Linked DNA regions of Homo sapiens: all the other regions are linked to region 1. The links are contacts of gene promoters, found by promoter capture Hi-C in human tissues and cell types (Jung and others, 2019). All regions are on one chromosome and are shown on one strand. Each heading gives the region's core, a stretch centred on a gene start or on the middle of the fragment in contact. The rest is flanking DNA. Distances are from core to core; before and after follow the strand shown. Region 1 holds the start of SPINK8 (serine peptidase inhibitor Kazal type 8 (putative)). Region 2 overlaps ATRIP (ATR interacting protein). Region 3 overlaps PLXNB1 (plexin B1).

Evidence for each region. The method cuts DNA at HindIII sites, captures the fragments that hold promoters and counts their contacts. A contact is called where the count stands out against the background at its distance.
Region 2: a contact is called between a fragment that was not itself captured here and the fragment with the promoter of SPINK8 in region 1, in 3 of the 25 tissues and cell types used here (IMR-90 fibroblasts, liver and thymus).
Region 3: a fragment that was not itself captured here is called in contact with the fragment with the promoter of SPINK8 in region 1 in 2 of the 25 tissues and cell types used here (IMR-90 fibroblasts and aorta).

What each region holds. Positions count from the first base shown.
Region 1 is chr3:48,332,015-48,335,713 of GRCh38, forward strand. SPINK8 (serine peptidase inhibitor Kazal type 8 (putative)) reads right to left here and starts at 1,647. Exons shown (of 8, transcript NM_001080525.3): 1 at 1,521-1,647; 2 at 352-457. RefSeq lists a silencer at 1,992-2,192. The HindIII fragment of the contact is 10,965 bases long and covers 1-3,699 here.
Region 2 is chr3:48,457,624-48,460,537 of GRCh38, forward strand. ATRIP (ATR interacting protein) reads left to right here. Exons shown (of 13, transcript NM_130384.3): 6 at 1,736-1,831; 7 at 2,164-2,293; 8 at 2,487-2,914. It overlaps ATRIP-TREX1 (ATRIP-TREX1 readthrough), which reads left to right. Exons shown (of 15, transcript NR_153405.1): 6 at 1,736-1,831; 7 at 2,164-2,293; 8 at 2,487-2,914. Among named protein-coding and RNA genes, the nearest start is that of TREX1, 7.1 kb to the right of the region's middle. The HindIII fragment of the contact is 6,156 bases long and covers 1-2,914 here.
Region 3 is chr3:48,411,666-48,415,364 of GRCh38, forward strand. It overlaps PLXNB1 (plexin B1), which reads right to left. Exons shown (of 38, transcript NM_001130082.3): 20 at 3,511-3,682; 21 at 3,134-3,376; 22 at 2,230-2,406; 23 at 2,005-2,153; 24 at 1,404-1,504; 25 at 1,077-1,294; 26 at 777-955; 27 at 573-639; 28 at 198-344. Among named protein-coding and RNA genes, the nearest start is that of PLXNB1, 17 kb to the right of the region's middle. The HindIII fragment of the contact is 6,083 bases long and covers 1-3,699 here.

The sequences.
Region 1 (3,699 bases), core at 397-2,896:
CAGTGGGCCTTCCAGTGATACCCTTGAAATAAGGGGCATGGATGAGGGGGTGGCTTATTTCTATTCGGACAATCTTTTTTAAAGTGTCCTTGTAGACCGCACTGGAATCAAATCCCTATTAGGCATTCGATTTGCCCAGCCTTTCACTTTTCCAGAGCCTCCAAAGTCCACTTGCCTGAAGGCCATGACTAAAGCGGTGGCCTTCTTTTTATCCCGTTTGTCCAGTTCTGCCTGCTCCTTCTGATCTCTATTATAAAAACTGAGGCCAAGTTCTTAGTTTAAGTTTTGTTCCAGGCCTAAGGCGGATTTTGAAGTTTTTTTCTAATGTCTGCAGCTGAGTGATAAACTTACCCTTTAAGATTAGTTGGCCTTCAATAGATCCAGATGACAGAGAGGTATGCTTCCTCAATGCCTCCCTTAGTCTCTCCAGAAAGGCAGTAGGATTTTCTTCCTTTCCCTGTGTTATAGTGGGCATCATTGAATAATTCATAGGCTTCTTCCTAGTTTTTCTTAGTCCTTCTAGCATGCAAGTTAGCAAATGTCTGCGGCACCAATCTCCACATTCTGATTCTGCGTCCCATTGAGGGTCTACACTGGGAACTGCCTGCTGGCCTGTGGGGAATCGTTCTCTTTCCTCTGTTGTCATCCTATCATTGACCTGACTGAGATACCAGAGATTGCCAAACTCTTGGGCTGCAGTTATAGCGGCACTTCTCTCATTTGGGGTTAGTATCTGATCTAGCAGTAACATTATGTCTCTCCATGTCAGATCAAAGGATTGTCCTAACCCTTGTAAAACATCAATATAGCCATCAGGGTTATTTGAGAATTTACCTAGGTCTATTTTAATTTGCTTCAAGTCTGAGAGGGAAAAAGGTACACACACTCTGGGCTGAATTCTCCTCCTCCCACCACTTCAAGGGGGCATAATCTGGGAATATTGGCACTCTTTGGTTCATTGTTTACCCCTTTCTCTATCTCCTTTGGCACCGTTTGTGTTGAAGGGGGGTCATTATTAGTTGGGGAAGGAGCCGGGGGAACGCCGGGGCAGGGGGGTAGATTCTGAGGGCTTCCTGTAGGGCATAAATCACACTTTTAACATAATTGTGAGTTGTCTCTTAATGAAAAGAAAGTTTGCACATATGGCACTTCGCTCCATTTGCCCTATTTTCTACAAAAGAAGTCTAGCTGTAAGATGGTGTTATAATTTATACTTCCCTTGGAGGGCATGTTTCTCCCTCTTGAAGAGGATATTGTGGCCAGGGGTACTGCAGAAGAATATAAGTCGTTTCTTTCTTAGCATCTGAGGGTCAAATTGGTCCTAATTCTCTAGAATACATCTTAGGGGCGTTTTTGCCTGGGAGGGGGGAACGTTTAAAAAGAACATAGGGATGCCAGCACCCCTAGTCATTTTCTGATGAGCATTAGTCCTAGAGCGTCCTCTGTGGTCCTAATGCTTATTCCTTTTCAGGGTGCGTAACCACCCACGGACCTCTGCTTATCAGATTAGTTACACTCACCGATGTAGCAGTCCTGCACCTGTTTTCCTGCCCTTCTTGACCACAAAGAAAGGGGTCTGGGCTGCTGGATTCTAGTGGTCCTTTACCAGCGTGCCTGACATTGCCTTTGCACTCAGGAGTGAGTTCTAGAGCTGGGCTGGGTTTCTGAGTATTTCATAACAACCCAGTTGCCCCATCAAGATGCATTTTCATAAACAACAGTTCTTATGCAAATTCGTTTCAGAGAGGGTGTAGGTAACCTTTTGAGTCAGGATTGAGATAGAGTTTTTGCCCACTAGGGCCTTTGTCCTTTTCCTTTGTAGGAATATGCCTTAATTATCGAACTTAAGATTTTGTTGCCCTGGATTAAGTCCTTTTGGGTACGAAATATGAGAGATGGCTCCTGTTTATCCTATGTGCCTTTTTCCTACGAGAAGGAGAGCGAGGAGAAAAAGATGGGCTTGCTCTTTTTGTAAGTACTTTAAGGCTTGGCTGAGTGCAAACAGCTCGCAGTTTGTGCAGACCAATTATGAGGCAATTCTCCTAACTCTGCTTCCACAAGAGTTTCCTTATCAATTACTGAATACCCATTGTGGTTTTTTCCTCAATCGCCTGGGAGGAACCATCTATCGTCCTATCCTAAAGGAAGTTCCTCCTAGGTCTGGTTGGACCTTTGCATGGCAATTAAGATTTAAATCCCCTGTTAGGAAATCTGCTGGGTTAAGGGAATTATCAGTGGTTGGTGTTAAATCACCTTTTTCTAACAGAATAGCCCCATACTTTAAGAATTTTGAGCTAGTAAGCTACCTTTTTTTTTTTTTTTTTTTGGTCTTAGGATTGTTCTGAACTGGTGAGGTGTGCTCACAATGAGGTTTCCTCTAAAGGTTATTTTTCTACTTTATTCTGTTAGCAAAGCAGTTGCCACTACAGATTGAATGCATTTGGGCCATCCACGGGTTACTGGGTTCAGGATTTTTGATAGGAAGGCTATGGGTTGTCAGTGGTCTCAGTGTTTTCGGGCTACGCCCTTGTTTACACTGACAACAAGGTAGTATTGGAGTATTATAGGGTCGTGGAGAAGACCTTTAATTATCAATTATAGGTTCTAAATTTACCTTGGCTTTTAAAGGAATAGGGTACACTGTTTTTTCTTTACTACCTCTCTCTTTCCCTTTTTTCTTTCTTTCTCTCTTTGACTTTCTGCCTCTTCCTCTCTCTGTCTGTCTTTTTTTAGATGGATTTTGGAAACGCAGTGGAAGGACGTTCACTTGTTGCCCCAGTTTGCCACTATAGGAACATGTGCCTCCCTTTAATTTACTCAAATTCGTTTTCATCCTGATCTATTATGTTGTTGTAGACTCAGTTCCAGTTGTTAAAATACTGGGTTATCAGTTCTAAGGGCCTGGCCAAGGAGCCAAGGCTTGGAGATTGTATTGCAGGGGGTAGTAAACTGGGTAGAAATTAGGGGAGGAGAGCATCTTACACAATGGGAGAGCGATCTTCCTAGCTATTTACAAACTTGGGGCCCTGGCAAGGGTGGTGGGGAATGGGTCCCACATAACAGCCCATGTTGACAGCTATATACCTAAATTGGGAGGGACACCAGGGGCAAGACTCCCTGGGTTCATAGCCTAGATATCTAAGGCCACAGCATAGAGCTTCCTTAGATCTCTTTGGAGATACAACTTGCTCTAATACTTGGGAGAGGAAATGAAAGTCTGAAGCATTAGTACCTAGGAGGCAGGGATTGGAGGAAGTAGATTCAGAGGTAAGGAGAATTTTTGGGGCTACACTTTCAAGAAAGTCATGGTCGGGACCCAGGAGGTATGGGTCAGAAGGAAAGGTAGGGGTGCACACGTGGGCAACTGTTGAGTAGAGACTTCTGGCTGCACCATGATCTCAACCAGCCAATGCCGGGAGTTCAGGACGACAGCTTTCTGCCTCTAGTCGGCCCTCGGCTTCCCCCCAGGAAATTGTGAAAGCGGAAGCTGGTTCCAGGCAGACCAACGCTCCTAACCCCAAAGGGTTGGGGGTTGTTAGAAAGCCTTTTCCCAGAAAGCCTCACAGCTGAGTCTTAAGTCCAGTGGCCATGCTAATCATTTTTAACTGGCTGACAGGTGCCCGGTATTTCCTCTGATTCTAAGGAAGGATAGGACAGGATAGCAAGCTAAAGTGGTTCAATATTACTCACCACTTTGGA
Region 2 (2,914 bases), core at 276-2,775, 130 kb after region 1:
TAATTTCTTGCCACATGGGCCTCTGCACATGGATATGGGGTATCCTCTTAACCTGGTGGGTGGCTTCCTCTAAAGCTAGCAAATCCAGAGAGAGCGAGCCAGGCAGAAGCTATCCATTTATGGCCTAGCCTCAGAAGTCACACAGCATCCCCTCTGCCACATTGTATTTGTTAGAAGCAAATCACTGAGTCTGGGCGTCATTCAAGGGGAGAAACCAAGCTTATACCTTTTTTTTAATTTTTATTTTTTATTTTTATTTTATTATTATACTTTAAATTTTAGGGTACATGTGCACAACGTGCAGGTGTGTTACGTATGTATACATGTGCCATGTTGGTGTGTTGCACCCATTAACTCGTCATTTAGCATTAGGTATATCTCCTAATGCTATCCCTCCCCCCTCCTCCCAAGCTTATACCTTTTGAAGGGGAGTTGTGTCAAAGCATTTGTGGGCCTTTTTTTTTTTTTTTTTGAGGCGGAGTCTCACCCTGTCACCCAGGCTGGAGTGCAATGGCACGATCTCAGCTCACTGCAACTTCCGCCTCCCGGGTTCAAGTGATTCTCCTGCCTCAGACTCCCGAATAGCTGGGATTACAGGCACCTGCCATCATGCTTGTGGGCATATTTTTAAACCATCACAGCATCAATTGACCATGCCAAAAACCTAGCTAGTATGCAGGAATCTGTTTTTCTTTTCTTGTTTTTTTTTTTTTTCTTTGAGGCGGAGTCTCACTCTGTCACCAGGCTGGAGTGCAGTGGCGTGATCTCGGCTCACTGTAACCTCTGCCTCCCATGTTCAAGCGATTCTCCTGCCTCAGCCTCCCGAGTAGCTGGGACTACAGGCATGCGCCACCACACCCAGCTAATTTTTGTATTTTTAGTAGAGACAGGTTTCACCATGTTGGCCTGGATGGTCTCAATCTCATGACCTCGTGATCCACCCACTTCAGCCTCCCAAAATGCTGGGATTACAGGCATGAGCCACCGTGCCCAGCCTCTGTTTTCCTTTTGTAGTCCAGCTTTTGAGTTTTTATAACTCAGTCCAGATTGAGGGGATCTGCTGTTTTTTAGAGAGAGACAATCTAACATCAGTAGGTTTTCAGACTGCTATGTCAGTGTATCTTATAAATCGGATACATTGACCCTCTTCTTACCATCAACCTTTCAAATCCTTGGCCATCATAACACTTCTGAGAAACTGTAGCCCACTTACATTTTTGGCATCTAGCAGCTAAAGGGGCAGTGTACAGTAGTGTTACAAGCAGGCAGTAGAGCCCAGTAGCCTGGATGTGAGTCCCAGTAATGCTGTTAACTGGCTTATATGATTTGGGCAAGTCCTTTAGTCTCTGTGCCTCAGTTTCCCTATATGTAAAACAGACCTAATGATAAATCCTTGTAGGGTCACTGAGGAACAAATGGGCTGATGCGTATAGAGCTCTTAAAACACTGTCTAGCACGTAACAAGCACCATGTCAATGTTAGTGGTCACTGTTTTATCTAATTGCCTCATTTTGAGTGAGGCAAACAGCTTGATTTTCTTTTCCTTTCCTTGTATGAGTTCCTGTTTTACATAAGGAAGGTAAAAGATGCAGGGCTCTTGAGCCGCTTTGGCTCTTGTTTGTTCCAAGTTCGAAGAAGTAGAACAGCGTGTGTTTTAAACTCATTGCATGTAAAAGTTTCTAATATGCCCATGCTTCTGGGCTCAAGTTTTGATTTACATTTTATCACATTTCAGATAGTAAGCCCCACAGTCTGAGAGGTGACTCCATAAAACAAGAAGAGGCCCAGAAAAGCTTTGTTGACAGCTGGAGACAGAGATCAAACACTCAAGGTACCAGAATCCCTGCTTCTCCTGCAGGGGCCTGCATGGCTCTGAGTAATATGCAGAAGAATTGCCCAGGCCTCTGAGAACCGGTGCCCCGGGCAGTCCTTCAGAGAGTCCAGGGAAGTCAAAGTATGTGGCTTAAGCAGAAGACTTTATAAAGTGGAAAGGGCCAAGGGCAGGTATGTCCCAGAGCCTTCCGCACCCACAGGCATCTTCCTGGGGCTTAGTGGCAGCCTAGAGGACAGTTGGCATCCAAAGAATCCTTACTGTTTCCTTCTGAAAGCCACCGAAAAGATCTCCCATGTCAGAACCTTCTAGAGTCATCTTGTCTTCTGCAGGTTCCATTTTGATAAACCTGCTCCTGAAGCAGCCTTTGATCCCAGGGTCATCCCTAAGCCTTTGCCACCTCCTGAGTAGTAGTTCTGAGTCTCCTGCTGGCACCCCCCTGCAGCCACCAGGGTTTGGCAGGTAAGCATAAGACTCCTGGAAAGCTTGTTTGGGAAGGAGCTTCCTGGAAGCAAATTCCTTTCTGGCCCTGGCCAGCCTGAGAAGTCTGTGGGAAGGGCAGGCAGCCTGGAGAATTTGGCAGGCAGGCTGTTTGGGGCTCTTGACCTTATCTCCATCCCACACTTAATCTATTTTTCTTTGTGTTTGTTGCCAGTACCTTGGCTGGAATGTCAGGCCTCAGGACCACAGGTTCTTATGATGGGTCATTTTCCCTCTCAGCCCTGAGAGAAGCACAGAACCTGGCATTCACTGGACTGAATCTGGTTGCCCGGAATGAGTGCTCACGTGATGGAGACCCAGCAGAGGGAGGCAGAAGGGCCTTCCCACTCTGCCAGCTTCCTGGAGCCGTGCATTTCCTCCCCCTTGTACAGTTCTTCATCGGCTTACACTGCCAGGCCCTGCAGGACTTGGCAGCTGCTAAGAGAAGCGGAGCACCTGGGGACTCACCGACACATTCCTCCTGCGTGAGCTCTGGGGTAGAGACCAACCCTGAGGACTCAGTGTGCATCCTGGAAGGCTTCTCTGTGACTGCACTTAGCATTCTTCAGCACCTGGTGTGCCACAGCGGAGCAGTCGTCTCCC
Region 3 (3,699 bases), core at 774-3,273, 80 kb after region 1:
TCATCAAAGTCTGCCCTAAACTGCTATCCTGCTAAGCTAGTCTGATGGGCTCTCTCCAGGAGCCAGCCAGAGGTCAACCCAGCTCTACATCCAGGTACCACATCAGAAGCTGGTGTCCAGACCCCACACACCCACACACTCTCCACCCTCGCCCTCACCGCACTCAGACTGCAGGCCACACACTTGCACACCCTCACCAGGGGACGGTACTCCACATCCTCTCTGAGCAGGCGGTTGTCGTTCAAGGTGTATTTGGCCTTGCCTGTCACACTGTCCACTGGCCCCTTATCCACTTGGTGCTTAATCCCTCGAAAGAGCATGTACAGAGGCTCCCCTACGGAGTCCTAGGAGAGCACAGGCAGTTAGGGCCCCCCAGCAGGTGGCAGAGGTGTATGGGACATGACGCACACTGGGGAAGGGGACAGGACATGGGCTTAAGGGGACTGAGGACAGGCTGAGCAGGAGTCTCTGCTCTGGCACAAGTGTCCGAGCTGCATGGTGGCTGAGGGCTTAGAAGTTTGGAGGGCCTGACCCTCCCTGGACAGGAGCCCTGTCCACCTCTGCCCCCTCACCCTCACGAAGGTATACAGACAGATGGACATCCAGTTGGTGAGCAGCTTCTCCACCACAGTCTCTGTCCTGAGATGATGGGAAAGGGGAGTGCCAGGGTCAGCAGGTGGGGCTGCGGGCCTCTCTATCCTGCAGACCCCCCAGCCCGAGGCCCCACCCCAGCTCCAGCTGTCCAGGGCCCACCCAGCCCCAACAGCCACACAGACCTGCGCAGCATCAGCTTGGGGTTCTTGGCCACATACTGGGCAACCAGGTCACTGAGCAGAGTGCGGAGGATGTCAGTGAAATACTCAAGCTTCCCATGCAGTGCCACGGTGAGCAGAGATGCCACGTAGGCACGGTCCCGAGCTGAAAAGGTGCGCTGGCTCTCCAGCGTGTGGATGAACTGCAGCCAAAGAGAAGGGATGGGAAAAGGGGTTTAGGGGGACAGAGGGGCGGGCTCAGAAACCATGCCCTGGAGAAGGGGCAGGGCCAGGGGCAGGCCAGGAAGATGCAGCTGGGGGTACCTTGGTGAGGAAGAGCTTGCTGTTGAGCAGGTTAGAGAGCTGCCCCAGCCCTTGCTCCACAGTGGGCCGTCTGCTCTCAGGCACACCCAGGTCCCGGTGCAAGGGCGACTCGCGGTGCCCAGGGAAGAAGATCCTCTCCGCATACACCTTGTAGTCGAGGAAGGGGATGCCGCTGCCCAGGAGGTCACTGGTGAGATCGGTCATCTCAGTCATGAGGTCTGTTAAGCAGAAGAGGCCAGGTTAAGCACCTGTTAAGCACCAATCCCGTGTGATGGGAGTGGGTTTGGGCAGAGTTCTGGAGGGCGGGGCCCATTCTCTCAGCCACACCTGTGAATTCCTTCTTGCAGCGGTCCCGCACACTGCTCTCCAGATTCTCCAGCTGGATCTGAACCTTCTTATAGTCCCTCAGGGCCTGCTTGCTCTTCCTCCTGCTCAGCCCCAGGGTCAGGAGAGGATGGCCAGATGAGTCCTACTCGCCCAGGCCTGCCTGACAATCCCCAGGCACACCCCGGCCTCATCCAGCACAGTCCAATGCAGCCATGCCAGCCAAGCTCAAGCCTAGCCCAGTACGATTCAGCCTGTCCCGTCCCAAGCAAGTCACACACACCCATGCCCCGTCTAGCCCAGCACAGTTTAGCCTAGAGATCAGCCAACCACAACCAGGCCAAATCCATCCCACAACCTATTTTTATAAAGATTTGTTAGAACACAGCCACTTTCATGTGTTTCCATGTCGTCCCTGGCTGCCTTTGTGCCACAGTGGCAAAGCTGAGTTGTTGAACAGAGACCACTTGGCCTGCAAAGCGAAAATATTTACTCTCTGGCCATTTACAGAGAATGTTTCCTGACTCCTGGCCCGGTCTGTCCCTTCCCAGTCCAGCCAGATCCCACGACCTGCCCCAGCCCAGCCACATCTGGCTGCACCCACCTGTACATGAGGACAATGATGATGACACCCAGAGCCAGAAGAGAGGTGCCCACCCCCAAGCCCACCTGGGCTGCCACAGGAAAAGCCCCAGGGCTCTCGCCGTCATACTGCACGTGACCCAGGGAGAAGCGCAAGTTCCCCATCTGCACCTGTGTCAGGAGCCACCTGTGAGCAAGGGTTTGGCCCAGGTCAATGCCCAGCCCGGCCAGGGACCTGCCCACTGACCGTGAACTCAGGCAAAGAGTCAGGTGCCTCTCGGAGGGCATGGTGCCGTGGCAGGGGCTGCTCCACGGGGGGCTCGCAGTACAGGTGGTGCCGCGTCAGCGTCTTCACCACACAGGGGCCATCCCCTATCATAGCCACCACCTCCTCCTTGGACATTGCAAGGTCCAGGTTCTCCCCCTGGAACAGAGGGTCACCGATCAGTCACTCAGGACCCTTCCCTCAGATCCTGTCCTCCCCAAATGTGGGAAGGACCCTGAGACCCAGCCGCAGCAGCAAAGCTGACAGCCTCTCAGCACCCTTCCCGAGTGCAGGCCAGTCACACGGTGTCCTCCAAGCTGCTCCTCATCACCCTTTGTTGCCCTTTCCTATCTTTCTTCTCCAGAACGAAAAATCTGGAGAACATAAAGCTGCCTCCCAAATCCTGCCCAGCTACCTAACAAAGCTGGAGCCCCCAATCTGTGTCTGATGACTCACCAGGGGGGTGATGATGCTGTATCAACCTGTGGTCTGCCCGCATGCCCATCTGCTGCCCACTGTGTATGTCCAAGACACATGCCTAGCGCATGTCCATGTGAGCCAGGCTGCCAACGGGGGTCAGCCCGATGGCCTATGTGGACCACACCACCCAGCTACTGCACAGGCCGAACATACAAATGCAGTCATTCCAGAGCCTGCCATGGAGTGCATCAGGACCCGGGCCACCAGCCAAGCAGTCCAGCTCGTGCCAGATGCTAGGCTAGGCACCCCCCACCAGCCCCCTCTGCCCCCACCACAGCAAGGATGAGGAGCCATGTCCATCCACCGGCCCTTGCTCTACTGTCTCGGCCTCTCCGCCACACACAGCAGTGCTGTCCAGCCAAGGGAAGGGTCTCGGGGCCCTGCCAGGTCCAAGTAGGAGCTGTACCTCCACGGAGAACACACTCCCAGGCTTGTGCCGGAATGGCATGGTGGGGTCCTCAGGGTTGAGTGGCTGCAGGGTGGGGTCGGCCTCATAGGAGAAAGGTGTGGGGTTCAGTGTTGCAAAGTCAAAGACCAGGTTGTCAAGGATAAATTCCACCCGGACCCAGGGGTCCTCAGGCAGGCCTGGGAGGGCAGGTGTGCGGCACGTGATGAGCTGGGAGGAGTTGACATGGCACGGCTCCTCAAACTGGAAGGAAGACAGGCAGGTTGACGAGGGGCCAAGCAAAGATGGGAAGAGCCTCCTCTGGCACCTGCTCTGGCTGTCCCCAGGGTGTGGTATGGGGCAAGGGGAGAGTGTGGGGGTACCCAAGGGTGTCCTACTTGCTGGCTACTGCAGGAGGGTCCAAGGGAACATGCCGTCTCCGGGACCACGCGACGCCTCCGTCCAAGCCCCTGGCTGGGCTGCAGCATTCTCGAGACCACGGTCACCCGGATTCTTGGCGTCTGTACCACGTCCAGATTCTGGCCACGGACGCATATCTCACGTCCTCCACTGAAACAGACCGTGAG